Linked DNA regions of Homo sapiens: regions 1 and 2 are each linked to region 3. Evidence: promoter capture Hi-C in 16 types of primary human blood cells and fetal thymus (Javierre and others, 2016). All regions are on one chromosome and are shown on one strand. The core of a region is centred on a gene start or on the middle of the fragment in contact, and the rest is flanking DNA. Distances in the headings are between cores, read along the strand shown. Region 1 overlaps TMOD2 (tropomodulin 2). Region 2 overlaps TMOD2 (tropomodulin 2). Region 3 holds the start of SCG3 (secretogranin III).

Evidence for each region. The method cuts DNA at HindIII sites, captures the fragments that hold promoters and counts their contacts. A CHiCAGO score of 5 or more calls a contact.
Region 1: a fragment that was not itself captured here is called in contact with the fragment with the promoter of SCG3 in region 3 in 1 of 17 cell types (neutrophils); the score reaches 6.3 in neutrophils.
Region 2: a fragment that was not itself captured here is called in contact with the fragment with the promoter of SCG3 in region 3 in 17 of 17 cell types (M1 macrophages, M0 macrophages, naive B cells and 14 more); the score reaches 10.9 in M1 macrophages.

Annotation. Positions count from the first base shown.
Region 1 is chr15:51,806,918-51,809,617 of GRCh38, forward strand. TMOD2 (tropomodulin 2) reads left to right here. Exons shown (of 10, transcript NM_014548.4): 10 at 1,503-2,700. The coding sequence ends at 1,537. Among named protein-coding and RNA genes, the nearest start is that of TMOD3, 21 kb to the right of the region's middle. The HindIII fragment of the contact is 2,147 bases long and covers 199-2,345 here.
Region 2 is chr15:51,772,135-51,774,834 of GRCh38, forward strand. TMOD2 (tropomodulin 2) reads left to right here. Exons shown (of 10, transcript NM_014548.4): 4 at 1,578-1,700. Among named protein-coding and RNA genes, the nearest start is that of TMOD2, 22 kb to the left of the region's middle. The HindIII fragment of the contact is 691 bases long and covers 966-1,656 here.
Region 3 is chr15:51,680,192-51,682,891 of GRCh38, forward strand. It overlaps SCG3 (secretogranin III), which reads left to right and starts at 1,312. Exons shown (of 12, transcript NM_013243.4): 1 at 1,312-1,646; 2 at 2,326-2,378. The coding sequence starts at 1,565. The HindIII fragment of the contact is 6,229 bases long and covers 1-1,617 here.

The sequences.
Region 1 (2,700 bases), core at 22-2,521, 130 kb after region 3:
GTCTGATACTTTGGCACTTTACATGTGATATAAACATGGAGCTACATTATGAAGTTTAAACTCACAGGTCGCCTTTTCAGTTAGCCCCTTCAGTTTTTCGTGTGGCCACTTGTTGCTGAGGATCCCTGGCATTTCTTCTGTTAGGATGAGGTGGGGCATGTCCTGATCAACCATAGCAAAGAAGAAAGGAACTGGGAAAGCTTGGTCTGAGGATATCCCAGCCACCTGGAGCAGCCTGGCAAAAGGACACCCAGGAGCAGACATCCATTTGGCAAGTGGTCAGTCAGTCAATAGCAGGCTTCAATCCCCAGTTTGAGGTTCAGGGACAGAATGCCAGATCTTGGATGGAGGAACTGGGCAAGGCGTTCCACCAGGTACAGTGCTGGCCTCAAGGAGGACTCAGATAGTGGGCAAGATAGAAGCTAAAGGTTAGAACGGGAAGGGGCAAATAAAGGTTAGCCTCCAATTCCTTGTCCAGACAGGCTTTGCCAAGACCCTGAGGCGTAGGAAAGGTGCAGTGTGTGGCATCAGGAAGCTGGCTGGACACGTGACAGTGCTTACCTGGGGGGTGCACAGGGTGAGGCCAAGGGACAGACAGGCAAATAGGGATTTGGGGAAGAGTGGAAGCAGCAATCAGAAGGCACCTAGGAAAAGCACATTGGGTCCACAACCAAACAATATAGAGACCAAAGGAAAACAGGCAAAATGAGAGGTCTGAAGAAAATGGACAGGGCAGCCTACGTCCAAGAAGCAGCAACTGTGGGCAAGAGCCTAGGTAGGAGCTAGGCTATTTAAAGTGGAGAGTTAGAGCAAGACCACAGCCAGGGCACCTTTTTGCCAAATCCAAGAAAGTTCAAATAGCCCTCTTCCCAGTGACCAGGAGAGCCTGCAGTTGGGAGAGTGAAAGGTGGAAGAAGAGGGTTGCAGGAACTGGGAAACGGCAGTCTCGGCAACTTCTTCGGTTCTAAACATCAGGTTAAAAGAACATTAATCTCTGAGTTTGCTTGCCAAGTGAATCACACCTTCCTGTAGGTTGATACTTAGAAGTTTTTATTTAGAAGAGTTTCAGAAACTTTGAACTATTTGCAGCTCCTTCCAGACTTCATCCCATAATCAGAATTAAAAGATTGTGATTGTGTTAACCTGAAGAGTTAGTTAAAGCCAGTTGGTGACAGAATTGCAAGTGCCGTGGATAAACGGCCATGAAAATAGTCAAAGTGCACTGTTTCACGGGTCTCTTCTGGAATTTCTATCCCATAGAAATTCGAAGGTTCTAACACTCGAGTACCCAACTATCAGACATATATGTATTTAAATGTAAATTCCACCAGACACTGGATGAATTTATCATTTCCATTGATTGTCATGGTTAAGTATTAAAATTTAAGATAACTGTATCCTCAAGTGTGTGAGATTGTCATCTTATGTGATTAATGTTGTTTATCTGGAATTTAAGGAATATCCCTTCAATTTGTCTTTTTGTTCCTTTCTTTCTTACCTAGTTCGTAAGAAGAGAGTTGAAGCAGACCGAAGGTAAACTTCCTTGAGGAGAAGTGAAGTTTCACTGTGGTATGGCCATTGAAAAACAAAAACTCTTCTTCTTCCCCATCAGGACCATTTTATCAAAGTTCGTTCATTTCCGTTAACCACATAACTAATAATTTAATTGTTATTCTTTTTTAGCACTACTTATTTATCTTGGATTTTGTAATATATGCAATTGTTTTATTTGCTCATGGGCACTTCTGGCAACTTGACAAATGGACCGATGCAGATTTTAGAGAGTGACGACATGGAAAATGAATTTAACCACTTTCTTATTGGGTTGTCTTGCTTTCTTACATGAACTTGTTTTTTTAATCACTGAAAGGAATTTAGTGTATAATATGTGTTTGTAACTGTGATTATGATAGAGGCCTATCTCTGTTTACATGCATAGCTTTGAGTTAGGCTAAATACATCAGAAGTGTTCTACTGACCACATAAGAAGTTAGTATTGCCAATCTTTCACTGCATGTGAAAATGTGACCAATTTAGCACAAATTCTCTCTTAGTTCCAGAAAAATCAGTAAATGCACATGCCCTGTTGATTGGAGATCAGTAGTGTCATCTTCATAAAGCAAGACAACATTATGACACTTTAAAACAGTAGCAAAGAAGTCTATTTATTAACCCACAAATGTAGCATCAAGCCAGACTCACAGGTAGCAAAATGAATTACACACCTACTTTTACTGACTATTCAACATAAATTGAATCTTTAACATGACTTTAAAGGCTATTTACAAAGCTGTTTTAAAGTTTTTCAAACATGATAGAAATTTTCTAAATTTTAGTAAGAGAGAAGCTTTTAAAACAGTACATTCCTGAATAAAACAACAATATTGTATCTTAATCAAGGCTGTCTGATGCAGATGATTGCATTTTTTGGCAAATTTTAGAAGCATTTATTGCTTTGTCTTTAGTGTAACAAGATCACTGGATTAAATATAAACATTCAGGTTAATTATCTAGATTTTTGTCCACAGTATATGATCCATCCAGACATTTGCAAACGTCAGGAGAAAAATGTGAATTATTTATCCAGATGCATGTCATCTCAAGGACAAAGCCTGTGAAAGTACAAGTGAGATGGTTGCATTGTAGTATGCATTAATCTTTCAATGTAGTGGTGTAAAAATGCAGTGCTAAACTAATGAA
Region 2 (2,700 bases), core at 61-2,560, 92 kb after region 3:
TTGGACCCTTTCCTTTCCCATAGGAGTGGGATAAACCAGGCTAGCGAAGGAGACCTGGAGAGAACTTGGGTCCCAATGGGCGGAAACTGGAGTGAGATGAGCCTTTAGGGAACTCTACAGATCAAAATGGAAGAGAACAATTTCAAAGACTGTGCCCCAAAAGTCAGAGCAGCTTCAAAAAAGAGAGAAACAAAGAGTCAAAAGCTGGGAATAATTAGAAAGGAATATGAATGCTCTGGGGTGTTTTGATCATGGCTCTAGAATGTCCCTGGTGCACGTGTGGGATGTGGATGTGTTGGCCTGGCTCGAAGTTAGGAGCAGGAACTGTGCCATCCTCCTGGGTATGGCAATGTTATTTCATCAGTCCAGAAGTTTGAGCTGGGAGTTAGGGAATAGATATCAGCATTTTCAGAAGTGAGCAGGGGACAAAATAAATGGAATCTTGCTGATAGGATGAAATGGGAGATGGTGGCAGAGGATGCATCTGTGGGAAGCACAGAATGCCTTGCTGCTCACAGAACCCCACTAGCTCCGAGTATAGTGACCCTGATTTTTCCTTACAATCATGCCTGCTTTGGAGACTCTAGAGAGGTGGCTATGTCCCCAGGTCACTACACTAGCCCACCTGGCCCCAGATATGGCATGCTAGTTGTCTGCATTCCCAATTTAGAGGGAGCGCTCCAGGGGATCACCAGTTTGTTACTCAGGAACCCCTAGTGCTGTTTAGATGAACCTGCTCCTAATATTTGCAGGGTCCAAGGCAAGTATACAAATAGAAGCCCACATGCCACATTTTCCAAATATTTAAAAGCTAACAAATCATTAAAATATGTTGTATCCTCCTTTAGATATACCTAGGAGGCCAGTATTCTTGGACTTCCAAGAGTTCCATGCAGGGATATTGATCTGTCCCACACTGCCAGGGCCTCAAACACACATGTTGGACACCCAAGCCCACATATCCAAGCTTCATCCAGGCTCCCCCACAAATAGCCTCCCCTTGACCTGAGGGTACACACCCAGCAGCATGACCTGCCTTCTGGAGGATAGACATGGGAAGGGGCTTGTGGAGGCTCTAGAGGCAGGCTCAGGGCTCTTTGGGCAAGGCATTCCAGGGTCCTAGGTACCTGAAGTGTGGTATAGAAAGTGGCCTATATGCTGGATGGGCATATCCCTTTGGCCTCATGGTTCCTCCCCTGGAGGGGAGAGGTACAGCCACAGGAAGACTAGTATGGGGTTCTCTAAAGTGCACGACTCAGGGCAGGGCCTCTCCTGCCCAGACCCAAGGGCAGTACTGCCAATAAGAGGGGTAGAAGCCACCATTTCCCTCTGTGTTTAAGGACTGTAGTCTCAGATCTCTGTGTGGCAGAATGCAGGATTCCTCCTCCAGTGTTCCTTCCCTCTGACAGTGACTTATTGATGTTGGTACCATCCTGGCAATCCAGGAATCTCGGTTGGATATGAACTGGCTTAATTATATGGGTCTCAATGGCCAGAACTGCATTCTCTGCTCAGTCTACTTACCCTACCAATAAGGCAGTAGTACTCAATATTTTTGTTTTTCTTCTGATTTAAAGGGAGAGTCTTTATCCCTAAAGAAAAGCCTATAGAAACTCGTAAAGAAGAAAAAGTGACCCTTGACCCAGAACTGGAAGAAGCTTTGGCCAGTGCCTCTGACACCGAACTCTATGATCTTGCAGGTTAGTCCTGAACTCTGGGAACTTTCCTGTCTGGCTCTATGACCTCCGAGCATGCACTGGCACCCATGGCAGCAGGCTTTGAGCTTCTCTTAGGTAGGAGAATGACAGGTTGACACAAGGCATTATGGAGCTGTAAGTCTTGATGCAGGTGACTTAAACTCTCTGAGCAAATGTTATTTTGCTCTATTTCAGCAGCAAATAATACCCATCTCACAAAACTCAAGAGTTACTGTGAGAAATTAAAGCAAACAAGTATGAAGGAGTGTTGAGAATTTAGAGAATAAAACAACAGCTCTTTTGCTTTCTAAGGAGCTTTCACATTTGGCATTTTATCATCACAACATTTCTATAAAGTTCTTGTTCTTCCCACAGTCATTGTTCCATTTTGATTCAGAAAACGCTAAGAAGTCCATTAGCCTTCTAGTCTTAACAATAGCAACATGATAATAATTATTATTATTTAAAATGCAGATAGAAAAAGGTCAAAGAGTACAAAAGAATGTGTAATGAAAAGTAAGTCTCTCGACCTGAATTACCTAGGCCCACTCCCATGTCTTGTACAGCCTTCAAGAAAGATTTTCTGCATCTACCAGTAGATTTATATATTAGATCTTCCTTCTACATACACAGGGTTATTAGATGACCACAGGATAGAGGTGCTTTAAAAACCAGTCCACAGCTTTAGCAAGAATTTTTATTCCATTGGAAGACATAGAATAATAACCTCTTTCCTCCCAGGAGAACCAGCCTTATTCTAAAATGTACCAGCCACCCCAACTGCATTTTCATTCCTTCTGTGATGATGTCAGGAAGTTCCCATGTTTGTGAACTTAATATTGACCATATTGACCACTGCAGGAGTTGAGGCGATGGCGTCACCTGGTAAAGAAGGTGTTTTGCACCCACTGGTCTTAGCCCTGGGGTTGCTGTGGAGGGATCCTGTTATGGCTACTGCTCCTCCCAGGGGTTGCCTCATGGTCTCTACCAGAATTGCCCAGAG
Region 3 (2,700 bases), core at 62-2,561:
AAATATGACTTAATTTTTTAATGCAGTATACTGGGATAATAATGCTATGTTATTACTGCCAATAAAGAGTTTTTTGTTTTGAAGGAGCTGTTAGATTTAGAATACTCTTTAGATCCTCAAAGGAAGTATTTGAGTGACTTCCAAACTCAAAAACCTCCGGAGCAAGGGAGATTTGTTTGTCAGCTTGGTTGTTTGTTTGTTTTTAGGTACTTGAATAACTTCCTCCTTGAAAAGGAGGGTGCAGAAATCAAAGGCCTGATTGTGCTGAATCCTTCTCTTTGGTCATTATTCAGACTGGTTCCCAGCATGCCGCAGTCCAGAGGAAAAGGTCCAAGTTCTGTTTAAAAATCAGAGACTAAAGAGCTTACTCAGCATCCTGCTCACATTAATGTTGCTTGTTTTCATCATTTAAAGTCTTTTGATAGTTCCTTGTATACAATAACCTTAGGCTTCTGGGAATATTCTCAGAACATAGGAAGCACCTCCCTGACTTAGTAAAGATGAAAAATGCTTTTCATGACTATCCCCTCTCTTGAAGGACCCCCTGGAACAGCCAGGTCTTTGGGCATAATTAAATTCTGGGCAAGATTTTACAGAAATGCAGCTTCTTTTTTCTAATTTAGTTGTGTGGTGTGTGTGTGTAAAGTGGGGGAGGTTCCACTTGGTGGGGAAAGGAGAATTTGCCATTGCTGCTCGTCTACTCAGGACTGTTTCTGTTGTTGTTGTGTTTCAGCATCAGAGAGTGAGAGTGTATTGCAGCAATCTGACTATTTGGAAGACTGTTCCTTGAATTTCCCAATTCAAAAGCCTCGGTAGAGCTGAGGGATGCTTGATACGTCAACACAGACCACAAAAGGCAGGGCTTTTCTAAAGAGATTATAATTATATCTACCTTTTGGGTACAGGAGGTGAATGGAAGGAAGGGATTCTGGAGCAGATATCCCAAAAGAAGAATCCCGAAGCAGAACTCCTCGCACAAGGTTATCTAAATCTCCTTGACAGGTGCACAGGCAGAGAAGGCATTTGGCCCTTGAAGTAACATTTACTTGAGAGGTTGGGACAATTCTGTCACGCTTAGGACAAGCCAGCTGACCCTGAGCCCAGGAGCACCCTAGGACTGCAGCACAGAAAATACACCAGCTGGCCGGTCGCCCCTCCTTTGTTCCATTCCCGGGGGATTGGAGTAGCGTTGGAGTCACCGACGCCATCCCCTCCCGCCTCTGGCGTGCATGGAGCATGCGCTTCCTTCCTCACTTCCTCTGCAGGAGGGAGCGAGAGTAAAGCTACGCCCTGGCGCGCAGTCTCCGCGTCACAGGAACTTCAGCACCCACAGGGCGGACAGCGCTCCCCTCTACCTGGAGACTTGACTCCCGCGCGCCCCAACCCTGCTTATCCCTTGACCGTCGAGTGTCAGAGATCCTGCAGCCGCCCAGTCCCGGCCCCTCTCCCGCCCCACACCCACCCTCCTGGCTCTTCCTGTTTTTACTCCTCCTTTTCATTCATAACAAAAGCTACAGCTCCAGGAGCCCAGCGCCGGGCTGTGACCCAAGCCGAGCGTGGAAGAATGGGGTTCCTCGGGACCGGCACTTGGATTCTGGTGTTAGTGCTCCCGATTCAAGCTTTCCCCAAACCTGGAGGAAGCCAAGGTATGTGAACACTTTTCTTCTTCCTACCTTCCTTTTATTTCGCCACGAAAAGGTAAAGTTTGGCATAATACGTGAGCTGTAAATCACCCTGACGCGTTTTCTGATCAAATCATATCCATGAATACGGACAGAGAAATCAGTTCGAATTTAGAGACAGAAGACAGATTTTTTTTCTTCACTTTTAAAATGATAGAGCAATAATATGGGTTGTTTTTAAAGATCTTATTTTGAAAAGGGAAGGGAACCTTTTTCACCTAAAGTGGCTTGGATTGTTTTCTAGTTGCCTTACAACCTTTCTCAGACAGTCTATTCATTATATATGCAGTATATGATGAAAGAGCTTTTAGTGTGCCAATAATACCAATCCAAATTATGCTCTCTCTAGCTGAGAATAGCTGATAACCCTAGTGTTAGAACTATATGTTAAATTTCTGGTCAGAAAAAAAAAAAAGTGTGATTCTGTCAGCTCAAGAAATACACCAAGATAATAAACAAGGCAATATTGATAATTACTATTATTGTATAATCTTGATAATCTTTGTTAATATGCATTTGTTTCATAGTCATCCAAAATTATTTCTCCTAATATTTTTCCTTTTTATAAAAATTTTATTTAATAAGAGGCATATTTTGTCCTTCAACGCACAATTAAATTTATATTCACATGTGTTTATTCTAGACAAATCTCTACATAATAGAGAATTAAGTGCAGAAAGACCTTTGAATGAACAGGTAGGTCAAAAGTAACATTATGAATGCTATTTCATTTTGATTTAGTTATTATTATTTAATGTAATTATGCTGTGACATTTTGGTCATTTTGAATTTACAAACATCAGGAACTTAATAGTTAATTGACAGAAATTAGGACGGGAAATCTAGTTTTGGTAAATTCTATGCCCTAGCAGTTATTTACATTGAGTTCTGTATAATGAATACATAGAGTAACTATATAATAACCCAGTAAGCTCAGCATCACATCCACTCTGTTGTAAGATTGCCTAATTTACCAGAGATTTCTCTTTCAACAATATTATAGGAGAAAGAAATTAAC